Linked DNA regions of Homo sapiens: regions 1 and 2 are each linked to region 3. Evidence: promoter capture Hi-C in 16 types of primary human blood cells and fetal thymus (Javierre and others, 2016). All regions are on one chromosome and are shown on one strand. Each heading gives the region's core, a stretch centred on a gene start or on the middle of the fragment in contact. The rest is flanking DNA. Distances are from core to core; before and after follow the strand shown. Region 1 overlaps MORN5 (MORN repeat containing 5). Region 2 overlaps NDUFA8 (NADH:ubiquinone oxidoreductase subunit A8). Region 3 holds the start of PDCL (phosducin like).

Region 1 (3,772 bases), core at 706-3,205, 660 kb after region 3:
CAGATGCAAACTCATCATGGCCTCTCCACAGATCCTTCCAGATCTAGAGGGAGAGGATTCTAGAGCCCTGGGAGATCCAGAAGCAGGGAGAAATTAGCCGGGCATGGTGGCACATACCTGTAATCCCAGCTACTCAGGAGGCCTAGGCAAGAGAATAGCTTGAACCCAGGAGGCAGAGGTTGTGGTGAGCTGAGATCACACCACTGCACTCCAGCCTGGGCGACAGAGACTCGTTTTCAAAAAAAAAAAAAAAAAAAAAGGTCAGGTGCGGTGGCTCACACCTGCGCACCTGTAATCCCAGCACTTTGGGAGGCCAAGGCGGGTGGATCACAAGGTCAAGAGACTGAGACCATCCTGGCAAACATGGTGAAACCCAATCTCTACTAAAAATACAAAAATTAGCTGGGCATGGTGGTGCACGCCCGTAGTCCCAGCTACTCGGGAGGCTGAGGCAGGAGACTCGCTTGAACCCAGGAGGCGGAGGTTGCAGTGAGCCGAGATTGTGCCACTGCACTCCAGCCTGGTGACAGAGTGAGACTAAAAAAAAAAAAAAAAAGTGGGGGGAGTGGGGGAGAAGCAAAGAGAAGAGTGAATGGAACAAGGTGGGCACCAGACAGGGAGGATGGGGTGCCAGAGGGTGAGGCTCTTCTTGCGTGAGGATCTCTCCTCCACAGCATCCGTCCCCCCAGCTGATCACCTTTATGGCCAATCCGTTTTCCCAAATGGCGTCGTATTGGCTTCCGCTGGGGAAGTACAGGGTTCCCTCGCCGTGAAACATGCCATCCTTCATTTCCCCAACATATATTGTTTCGGTAGGGAGGATGTACTTGGCTTTGCCCTCCATCCTGTAAAGACACAGGGAAATCACTGAGCCCTGTGTGACAGCTGGAGGATCAGAGCTGGCAGGCAACAGAGTGAGCAGGAACCCCGTTCTCAGCATTCTCATCCTTCTCATCCCAGCAGTACTCTGCTGAAAACAAAATTTTTGTTTTGTTTCCCTCAAAAGCTCAAAAACGAAAAGAGGGGAATAGAGTTTGCTCTGTTCATTCTCCCCTTCACCTAGAGGCTCACTCTCACCTTGGAGTTCACACTGCTCCCTGAAATAAACCCCCCTAGTAGGCCCAGAGAGCGTAGAGATGTGCCCAAAACCACACACAGTAAAAACTGTGGACACTAGAGCCCAGGTTTTCTGGCAGCTAGTTCTGTGATTTCTCTGTCCCCCATGACCAACCCATCCTTGCCTATTATGCCACAAGTGGAATATTAGGGAAAATATGAAATTTAGAGACAGGAGTAAGGGTTTGAAGCTTACCACCATTATATATATATATAATCTTGGATACTAATATTGTTTGGCTGTGTCCCCACCCAAATCTCATCGGGAATTGTAGCTCCCATAATCCCCACATGTCATGGGAGGGACTCAGTGGGAGGTAACTGAATCATGGGGGTGGGTTTTTCCCATGCTGTTCTCATGATAGTGAATAAGTCTCATGAGATCTGATGGTTTTATAAAGGGCAATTCCCCTGAACATGCTCTCTTGCCTGCTGCCATGTAAGATGTGCCCTTGCTCCCCCTTTGCGTCCACCATGATCGTGAGGCCTTCCCAGCCATGTGGAACTGTGAGTCCATTAAGCCTCTTTCCTTTATAGATTACCCAGTCTTTGGTTATGTCCTTACAGCAGCATGAGAACAGACTAATACAGATACTTTCCCAAACCTCTTTGCTTGTGCCTCCCTCCCTTCCTTCCCTTCCTTCTTTCCTTCCAAACAGGTATTTACAGAGCACCTACATTTTGTCAGGGACTATGCTGATGGTCCAACTTGCTGAATACAACACAGATTCAACAGTGATCAAGGCAGATGCGGTCCCTGTCCTCGGGGGGCTCACAGTCTAGTGGGGGACAAAATTGAGTAATTATACAATGTGTGATAAGTGCTATGCAGGAGGAAGACAGGCTCATACAGGAGAACAAGGCAGGGACACCAGCTTGACCAGTTGACTAGCTTCTTTGTTTTGTTTTTTGTTTTTTTCCCAAGACCAGATCTTGTTCTGTCTCCCAGGCTGCAGTACAGCTGTGTGATCATGGCTCAATGCAGCCTCAATCCCCTGAACTCAAGTGATCCTCCCACCTCAGCCTCCCAAGTAGTTGGAACCACAGGTGTGCCCCACCACGCCTGGCTTATTTAATTTTTTTTTTTTTTTTTTTTTTTTTGTAGAGACGGGGTTTCCCTATGTTGCCCAGGCTGATCTAGAACTTCTGGGCTCAAATGATCCTCCTGCCTCAGCCTCCCAAAATGTTGGGATTACAGGTGTGAGCCACTGCACTGGGCTGACCAGTTTCTTTATGGGTGAAATGGCTGCAATTAATCCAGGTAACATATAACGATTTTCCTAGTAAAGGGCCTGACATATATATAGTGAGTGCTTAATAAATATGCTTTCATTCATTCCTTCTCCATTCCTCCTAACAAGCTGAAGGCTCCTCTCCTAACTCTGACCTTCTTTAGGCTTTTGCTAATACCTCTGTCGGGATGTGTAACACTTTCTATCTTGTTTTGTAATTAGGTATCTTATCTCCTGTATTTAAGAAAAGCTTCTTTAAAGGAAGACTTTGGTATCCTCAGCTCCTAGAACCATTAAGCAGGTGCTTCATAAACGTCTCCTGAGTAAAGAATGAAGGAAACAGAAAGAGTAGTCAGTGAACAGAGTGGATGACAAAGTTGTTGAGATAACTGAGTGAGACGATGGTTGTGAAACTATAGCAGAATGCCCGGCATAGAACAAGAAATTGAAAACTATTTCACTTTTATTCTAGTGCAAGACATGGGGGGAAGGGAGAATTCCTCTTCTCCTTCCCTCCTGTACTCTTTGCTTGAGCTCACATCTATCATTTCTAAGCACCATCTCCATATTCAAGTTCTACACCCTTCTCTGAGGTTAGACCCCACCCCTTTTCTTACCTTGAACTGGACATCACTGTTCAGACCTCTCACAGACATCTCCAACTCGCCTAAAACAGAACTCATCTCCTCCTCCCCTAAGCAGCACCTCCTTAGAGTTCTCTATTTCCATGAATGGTATCAGAATCCTCTGGTTCAAGGCCAGGAGCTGGGCCCAGGGCTGGGGCTGTAAGCCATCTCTGGACGGGACTGGAGCCAATCAGCTGCCAACTCCTGGCAGTAAAATCCCCAAACCTCTCCTACATTTTTCTCTTTCCTGCAGCTTCACTGCTTCTGCCTTGGCCCAGGGTTCTGCTGCCTCTTACTGGGACAACTGCAGTGAGCTCTGAGCTGATCTCCCCATCTTCACTTTTCCTGCTTCCCTCCTCTCTGTCCCTCCTTCTCTCCTTCTCCTCCCTTCTTCTTTTTCTCCTTCACTCTCTCTCTCTCTTTCCCTTCCTTTCTCCCTCCTTCTCTTCCATTTTAAAAAATTCATTCAAGGTGAAAAGCCTGCCTTCTAAATTCAAAGTAAGTTAAAAAGAAGAAAAAAACCACTTTATAGTGAAGGCTTCAATCCATAATAAGGATATGATTACCAGATCTCAAATACCTATCAATTAGCTGGGCATGGTGGCGCATATCTGTGGTCCCAGCTACTGGGGAGGCTGAGGTGGGAGGATCGCTTGAGTCCGGTGGGGTGGACATTGCTGTGAGCCAAGACTGCACCACTGCACTCCAGCCAGAGCACTCCAGAGTGAGACCCTGTCTCAAACAAACCCCTCAAAACCTATGATTCATTCATTCATTCATTCAGCCAACATTTACTGA
Region 2 (3,899 bases), core at 1,080-3,579, 680 kb after region 3:
GGACAAACTGGGCTGGGTGCGGCCTGACCTGGGAGAACTGTCAAAGGTAAAAAGGCTTCTGCTGGAGGTCTCACTTTCTGATTCAGGGGTGGGATAAAGGCAGGAGGTGGTCAGCAAAGGGTCTCTGTAAATACAGATATGATGTAAGAACTTACCAGATTTACCAAACATATTAATTAGGCAGTGATTATACACAATCCAGAAAGGAATTTTTAAAAATAGAAATATTTCTGGCTGGGCGTGGTGGCTCACGCCTGTAATCCCATCACTTTGGGAGGCCGAGGTGGGCAAATCATGAGGTCAGGAGATCGAGACCATCCTCGCTAACATGGTAAAACCCCGTCTCTACTAAAAATACAAAAAATTAGCCGGGTGTGGTGGTGGGCGCCTGTAGTCCCAGCTACTTGGGAGGCTGAGGCAGGAGAATGGTGTGAACCCGGGAGGTGGAGCTTGCAGTGAATGGAGATTGTGCCACTACCTCCACTCCAACCTGGGCAACAGAGCGAGACTCCGTCTCAAAAAAAAAAAAAAAAAAAAAAATTTCTTTAGGCCTTCTAGCATGTGCAGGTTTGTTTTTAGTTAATTAGCTAATTAAAGAACAGAAGGGAGTAGAGAAAGATAAAGTATTAGTGAAACACTGTCAGTTGAAAACATTGTGGAGGTTATTGTGGAATTCACTGGGGAAATAGGATCAGGCTTATGCCACATTTTTCAGGAACATATCTAAGATTTTTTTTTTAAAACTACATTCTTGTACTTTTAAAAGTGTTTCTCTTTCTCCTATATTTCCTATCTTAGTTTTGACACCACCATCTGTTGAAACATCAGAGCTAGAAACCTGAATTCTTCATTCCCTACTGATTCCATGCAGTCATCACTTCCTTTAGATTAGCATCTTCTGGAATTTTTTTTTTAATCCTCTCATTGTTCCTGCTGCTGTTATCTTATTCTTGGACAGGAGTTCTTAACCTGGGGTACATGAATTTCTGGGAGAGGAGGGTGGATCAATGTGGGCTTTAGATGAAATTGAAGAATTGAGGATTAAATTACACCTCCACAAGAAGAGTGATCTGTGTGGAAAACAAATCTTATGTCACTGTGTTTTTAAAAACTGTACGGGGACTCTCCATTGCTGGTGAGATAAAGCATCTTCTCCATAACATGGCATGCAGGCCCTTTATGATCTGACCCATCCCTGCTTCTTCAGCCTCAGCTCCCTCTGTTCCCTGTGGAGCAGCACAGGTAGCAAGGCATGGAGGAAAAAACTCAGGTCTTACTCTCTCTCCTAGGCTGGAATGCAGTGGTGCGATCACAGCTCACTGCAGCCTTGACTTCCTGGGCACAGGTGATTCTCCCACCTCAGCCTCCCAAGTAGCTGGGACTACAGGCACAGGCCACCATGCCCAACTAATTTTTGTATTTTAGTAGAGACAGGATTTTGCTATATTACCCAGTCTGGTCTTGAGATCCTGAGCTCAAGCAGTCCTCCCACCTTAGCCTCCCAGTGTGATGGGATTACAGGTCACCATACCCGGTCTAGTTCCCTTCTCTTTGTGTATAGCATCTGTGAATGGTTGGATTATAAGCTTGGTGTCATGAGTAATAACTTAGCAATTTTTTTGTCTTTTATATCTGGCTTGATTATTTTCAGATACTTTTTGATGTACTGAACATATTATTTTAAATAGTTGATAATTCTAGATTGGAAAGTGGTAGAACTTATACATGTAACAAATAAAACTACCTTTTCTCATTTCTGACTTATGAAAGAAGAAATAACAAGTCATGCTAGTAAGAAAGCATATTTATTCTTGAATCTTTGTATTAACATTTTTTAAAACTCTGTGAGATAAAAAAAAAATTCTCTTAACTCTTTTCAAAAGTGTATTTCTCGATCAGGTGCCATGGCTCACACCTGCAATTCTAGCACTTTGGGAGGCTGAGGCAGGAGGATCGCTTGAGCTCACGAGTTCAGGACTAGCCTGGGCAACATTTTTTTTGTTTTTCTTTTTGAAGTGGAGTCTCACTCTGTCACCCAGGCTGGAGTACAGTGCCACGATCTCTGCTCACTGCAACCAGTGCCTTCCGGGTTCAAGCAATTCTGCCTCAGCCTCTTGAGTAGCTGGGATTACAGGCACCCGCCACCATGGCCAGCTAAATTTTGTATTTTTAGTAGAGAAGGGGTTTCACCATGTTGCCTGGGCTGGTCTTGAACTCTGACCTCAAGTGATCCACCTGCCTCAGCCTCCCAGAGTGCGGGGATTACAGGCATGAGCCACTGTGCCCAGCCAATTTCATAAATGTCTTTAATTCCTTAAAGGAGCTGCAAATACCAAGGAACCACTAGTGGATCATTAGGAACCATCTGTACTTATGACAGGGCGGTGGGATAACTTTCAAAAGCAAACAAACGAAACTAGTAGACTTGAAGACTTAGGTTCCAGCTTTAGCTCTGACATTAGTGTGTATCTTATCTTAGGCATGCCAACCTCCCTGGTCTTCATCTGTGCACTAGAGATAATAATGCCTCATAAGGTGGTTATAATAATAATTGGGTGATTGTATACACAAAAGCTCTGTTCCCAATAAAAGGTTTCTGAATTTATACATCTAGGAAGATGAATCTGGTCATTTTACATGAGGTGACTTAAGAGTTCAGCCCAGTAGAAGAATAATCAGAAGACTGCTGACAGCTGTGGCCTTATGTCTTCTTACTTCTCTGGGCCTATTTCTTTATCTTTAAAATGACAGCAGTTTCTGCTGGCTTTCCAGTTGAGATTTTTGTGACCATCAGGGGATACTGTGAGTGTAAATTATCTCTCTCCCTGTTGCAGTTTAGTACTTCACCACTCTCCTGGCTTATTGGCTCAGCTCCCCAATTTGGGTCTTGCCTCTCTCCACTTTAGCTTTCACACTTCCCAGCCTACAGAGATGGGATTTAGTTACTGCCGTGCTTCAGTGGCACCTGTTAACCGTCAGGTTAAAACGCAAACACCTTTGCATATCATTTAATACCCTTTATCATCTGGCCTGTCCACCACTGTAGTGTGGTATTAAGAAGCACAAGCTTTGGAGTAGGCATATCTGGCTTTGTGTACAATTTCTTCCACTATTAGCTAGGTGGCCTCAGTGAGCCCCTGCAGAATGACCTCCTAAGAGTGAAAATGGAATGGAATCATGTGCTCAGCATCATTTCTAGCAATAAGTTCTTGGTGAGATGCTTCATCTCCCTCCATTCTTCATGCAGCCTTTGATTCAGCCATTCTGAAGACATGCCTGCCTATCTTCATATGTAGTCTTTCCTTGGAATGTCTTTTCCTCCCTTGCCTTTCTGACTGGCTCCTGCTCAGACTTTAAGCTAAGTCTTACCTCCTTAAAAATATTCCAGACCCCCAGCCTTCAGGATGGGTTAGATGTGCACAGTCCTTGCTCCTATAGAGGCAGTTCCTGTCTCCATCATTGCCATTAGCCATCAGGGTGATTTGGAAATCTTGGTTGTTATTCCTGGCTTTCTCCCTCACTAGACTGTGATCCCCTTGAGGACAGTATCTTGTTCCCTTCTGTATCCCTAGTTTCTACCACATGGAATGACATAAAGTAGGCTTTCCTGAGTGTTTGTTCAATGATTAAATACGTCTGAATGTGATTTGCTGGGAATTTAAGTCGGGGAGCAGTTGTAGCAGCGGGAGCAATGAGGAGACACCAGGAGGCGCATTGATGGTTACAGATTCCTCCACCCTAGCTTTCAACTTTGCTTTTGCCCTCTTCACCCTTCCCAGGTCACCAAAGTGAAAACAGATCGACCTTTACCGGAGAATCCCTATCACTCAAGACCAAGACCGGATCCCAGCCCTGAGATCGAGGGAGATCTGCAGCCTGCCACACATGGCAGCCGCTTT
Region 3 (4,055 bases), core at 1,374-3,873:
TTAGTAGAGACGGGGTTTCACCATATTGGCCAGGATGGTCTTGATCTCTTGACCTCGTGATCTGCCCACCTCGGCCTCCCAAAGTGCTGGGATTACAGGTGTGAGCCACCATGCCTGGCCCATTCCACATTTCTAACAGGAAAAATGAGTGGTTCTGTTGGATATTATTAGATAGCTAACTCATGTACACATATTCCTGACAGATGCAAGCTACATTCCCAACAAAGACATCACTATATCTATACAACCAGGAGACTGAATATATTAAAAGGTCTGAATTTGAGACCAACGTGGGCAACATAGCAAGACCCCATTTCTACTTTTTTTAAAAAAGGTTGAATATGGCCGGGCGCGGTGGCTCACGCCTGTAATCCCAGCACTTTGGGAGGCCGAGGCGGGTGTATCACGAGGTCAGGAGATCGAGACCATCCTGGCTAACACGGTGAAACCCCGTCTCTACTAAAAAATACAAAAATTAGCCGGGCGTGGTGGCGGGAGCCTGTAACCTGGGAGGCGGAGATTGCAGTGAGCCGAGAATTGCGCCACTGCACTCCAGCCTTGGCAACAGAGTAAGACTCCGTCTTAAATAAATAAATAAATAAATAAACCAGTGTCGGGCAGTTCTTTATAGCAGTATGAACTGCCTGACACTGGGTTATTTATTTACAGCAGTATGAAAACGGACTTATTAATACAGTATTCTTGAATGGGTGTGTGTTTGTGTGTGGTATTTTTTGACTCCTCTGAGGGCCTCAGCAAACAGCCTCTCTGAAAACAGGCAGGTACAGAAATTTGCAGACAATTTCAGGTGGTCCTAGAACCACAAATTAAGATCCCCTACCCCAAATTAAGAGCCCTATTTTAAACAGTGTATCTTTCTAGAATATTTTCTATGATTCAATTTACCCAAAGCTTTCTATGAGCAACTTCACGGTTGTGTATTGGATACTTCAACAAGGGCTCAGAATTTGAAATCATTTTAGGTTTTAAAAAAGTTGCAAAAACAGACGACAAAGTATGCCTGAGGAAAAAGAAAAAAAAGTTGCAAAATATCATAGTATGGCTTTACCCTGGAAGAAGAAAACAAAGTTGCAAAAATAGGATAGTGCTTCCCTAGATTCTTCATCTAATAGAATCTCCAAAAGTTCACATCTTACATAGTATAATTATTAAAACTATTGATACAATACTACTAATATGAATTAATAGGCCTTATTCAAATTTCGTCAGTTGTCCCATTCATGTCCTTTTTATTTTTCTTTTTTGAGACGGAGTCTCAGTCTTGACCCCCAAGCTGGAGTGCAGTGGTGCGATCTCAGCTGTCTGCAACCTCCGCCTCCCGGGTTCAAGCGATTCTCCTGCCTCAGCCTCCGAGTAGCTGGGATTACAAGTGTGCACCACCATGCCCGGCTAATTTTTGTATTTTTAGTAAAGACGGGGTTTCGCCATGTTGGCCAGGCTGGTCTCGAACTCCTGACCTCAGGTGATCTGCCCGCCTCGGCCTCCCAAAGTGCTGGGATTACAGGAGTGAACCACCGCACCCGGCCCCATGTCCTTTTTCTATACCAGGAGCCAATTCCGGATTTCACATTACATTCCTGCTCTGTCACCCAGGCTGGCCTCCAAGTCCTGGGCTGAGCGATCCTCCCGCCTCAGCCTCCTGCGTAGCTGGGACTACAGGCGCGCGCCACCACTCCTGGCTGCCGCTTCTTTAAAATGGTGAAACCCCGTCTCTACTAAAAATAGAAAAAATTAGCCGGGTCTGCTGGCGGACGCCTGTAATCCCAGCTACTCTGGAGGCTGAGGCAGGAGAATCTCTTGAACCCGGGAGGCGGAGGTTGCAGTGAGCCGAGATCGCGTCACTGCACTCCAGCCTGGGCAAGAAGAGCGAAACTCCGTCAAAAAAATATATATATATATTTTAATCTATGCCCTGTACTTGAGGGATTTGTGCTCTCGGGCAAATTACCGAACGTCTCTGAGTCACTTTTCCGTCTAATAGACGTGATGCGATGAAGAACCAATAAAAAACACACTTTGAATGGCTTCGGAAACTTCGAAGGGAAGTGAATACATTTTTCTTTTCTTTCTTTCTTTTTTTTTGAGACAGTCTCGCTCTGTCGCCCAGGCTGGGGTGCAGTGGCGCGATCTCGGCCCACTTCAACTTCTGCCTCCTGGGTTTAAGCGATTCTCCTGCCTCAGCCTCCCGAGTAGCTTGGATTACAGGCGTCGGCCACCAGGCCCGGCTAATTTCTGTATTTTTAGTAGAGACGGGTTTTCAACGTGTTGGCCAGGCTGGTCTTGAACTCATGACCTTAAGTGATCCGCCCGCCTCGGCCTCCTAAAGTGCTGGCATTACAGGCGTGAGCCACCGCGCCCGGCCTGTGAATACATTTTTCTTATTGCTTGACGCTGGGTCATACAATTCACTTTTTTGTTGTGCAGATTAAAACCAAAACAAAGCAATTAGGAGAGCGTTGTTGTCGAGGTGTTTTGTTCCAAGGTAGGACCCGTAGCTTCTCCCCTGCCCCTCAGCTGGGAGTAGCGGCTTCTGATTGGACAATGCGCGTCCGCCACGACGCAGGAAGGCCGCCTCATTGGTCCGCGCTGTCGGGCTTCGGCGGCTTTTCTCTTTAGCGCTCAGGGCGCTGACCCACTGCTCTTCCTCTTAAGAAAGTGCTCCATTCCTTCCGGCGCCCGGAGCTGCTGGCCCAAAGGGATCCGGAGCGAGCTAGGGCAGGTAACTGCATTGGGGTCCACCGGGAAGCGGCAGCAGCTGCGGACTACGGGAGGGAGTGGGGTTGGCGAGCTTGGGTAAAACTGCCCCTTCTTCGCTCTGTCTCGACCCCCAAGTTCTCCGCGTCTTCCTCGTCCCCTTTCCTCCTCTGGCCCCACCTCCCCCGGGCCCTTCCAGCCTTCCCCCAAAAGCTCCACACACCCCTCTGCTTCCCGTCCGGGGGCCCCGCCTCCTCTGCTCGCGTCTCCAGGGGGCCCGCCCTCGTCTCCTCCCCGCAGCGGTCCCTCCTTTAGGAGCGCAACTCCTTCCCTCCCCTCCGCCGCTGCTGTGTCCCCCGCTTGGCCCATTCCTGGGCCTTAAGTTTGGTTTTGTTCCTTCTTGGCACCTCCACCTGTCTCTCCATGATCCCTGTCTCCTTTGCATCTGACTGCTGGAGTCCTCCGATTCTCCCGTTGACCCAGGCTGCGAGTTTAGCAAATTGTGCAGCGGCATTGTGCTGGGCTTTGGGGATAGAGGTAGTGACTAGAGGTCCCTACGTTCAAGAACTCCTTGCCCGGTGGGAGAGAGTCACTTTGTAAATGGAGTATGATAGGCCCGGTGATAAGTCTTTAAGGCAGCCGCATTCCTGCTGAATTCTCAAGCAGGCCTCTGGGGGCTAAGCTGCATCTTTTCATCAGAATGCCCTTGGCTACTTCTGATGCAGAAGCCTGGTCCTTTATATTTTTAGTTTTTATTTTTTTTTGAAACAGAGTCTCGCTCTGTCTCCCAGGCTGGAGTGCAGTGGCGTGATCTTGGCTCACTGCAACCTCCGCCTCCCGGATTCAAGAGATTCTCGTGCCTCAGCCTCCTGAGTAGCTGGGAAAACAGACACCCGCCACCACACCTGGCTAATTTTTGTTTGTTTGTTTGTTTGCTTTTACTAGTAGAGACAAGAGTTTCGCCATGTTAGCCAGGCTGGTCTCGAATACCTGGTCTCAAGTGATCCTCCCTCCTCGGCCTCCCTAAGTGCTGGGATTACCTGCGCGAGCCCGGCCATCATAGTCCTTTAAACCCTTGGGAGTTATTAAAATCTTTGTATGGGCCCTTCTTTTAAACTGTCAGAATAGGTAGCGTTTCAGAGACCATCCATCCAAGCCCTCAGGGTGTTGTCTGGGAAGTTGAAGGCTGGTGACAGAGAGTGATTGCCTAGACAAATAGTGACTCAGCATTGTACTCTTGATGCCTCTTTTTGGGGTTTTTCCTGAGGATACTTAAACAATTTTTCAATTAGGCAGCAGTCTTAGCTGGTGGGAAAACTAAAAGCACAGATAAAACCACT

The links. The method cuts DNA at HindIII sites, captures the fragments that hold promoters and counts their contacts. A CHiCAGO score of 5 or more calls a contact.
Region 1: a fragment that was not itself captured here is called in contact with the fragment with the promoter of PDCL in region 3 in 2 of 17 cell types (total CD8 T cells and total CD4 T cells); the score reaches 6.2 in total CD8 T cells.
Region 2: a contact is called between a fragment that was not itself captured here and the fragment with the promoter of PDCL in region 3, in 1 of 17 cell types (naive B cells). The highest score is 5.2, in naive B cells.

What each region holds. Positions count from the first base shown.
Region 1 is chr9:122,163,841-122,167,612 of GRCh38, reverse strand. MORN5 (MORN repeat containing 5) reads right to left here. Exons shown (of 5, transcript NM_198469.4): 2 at 698-845. Among named protein-coding and RNA genes, the nearest start is that of MORN5, 5.8 kb to the right of the region's middle. The HindIII fragment of the contact is 1,291 bases long and covers 1,310-2,600 here.
Region 2 is chr9:122,144,259-122,148,157 of GRCh38, reverse strand. It overlaps NDUFA8 (NADH:ubiquinone oxidoreductase subunit A8), which reads left to right. Exons shown (of 4, transcript NM_014222.3): 3 at 1-46; 4 at 3,780-3,899. Among named protein-coding and RNA genes, the nearest start is that of NDUFA8, 14 kb to the left of the region's middle. The HindIII fragment of the contact is 1,481 bases long and covers 1,589-3,069 here.
Region 3 is chr9:122,827,156-122,831,210 of GRCh38, reverse strand. It overlaps PDCL (phosducin like), which reads left to right and starts at 2,623. Exons shown (of 4, transcript NM_005388.5): 1 at 2,623-2,740. RefSeq lists an enhancer at 2,427-2,721. The HindIII fragment of the contact is 3,273 bases long and covers 915-4,055 here.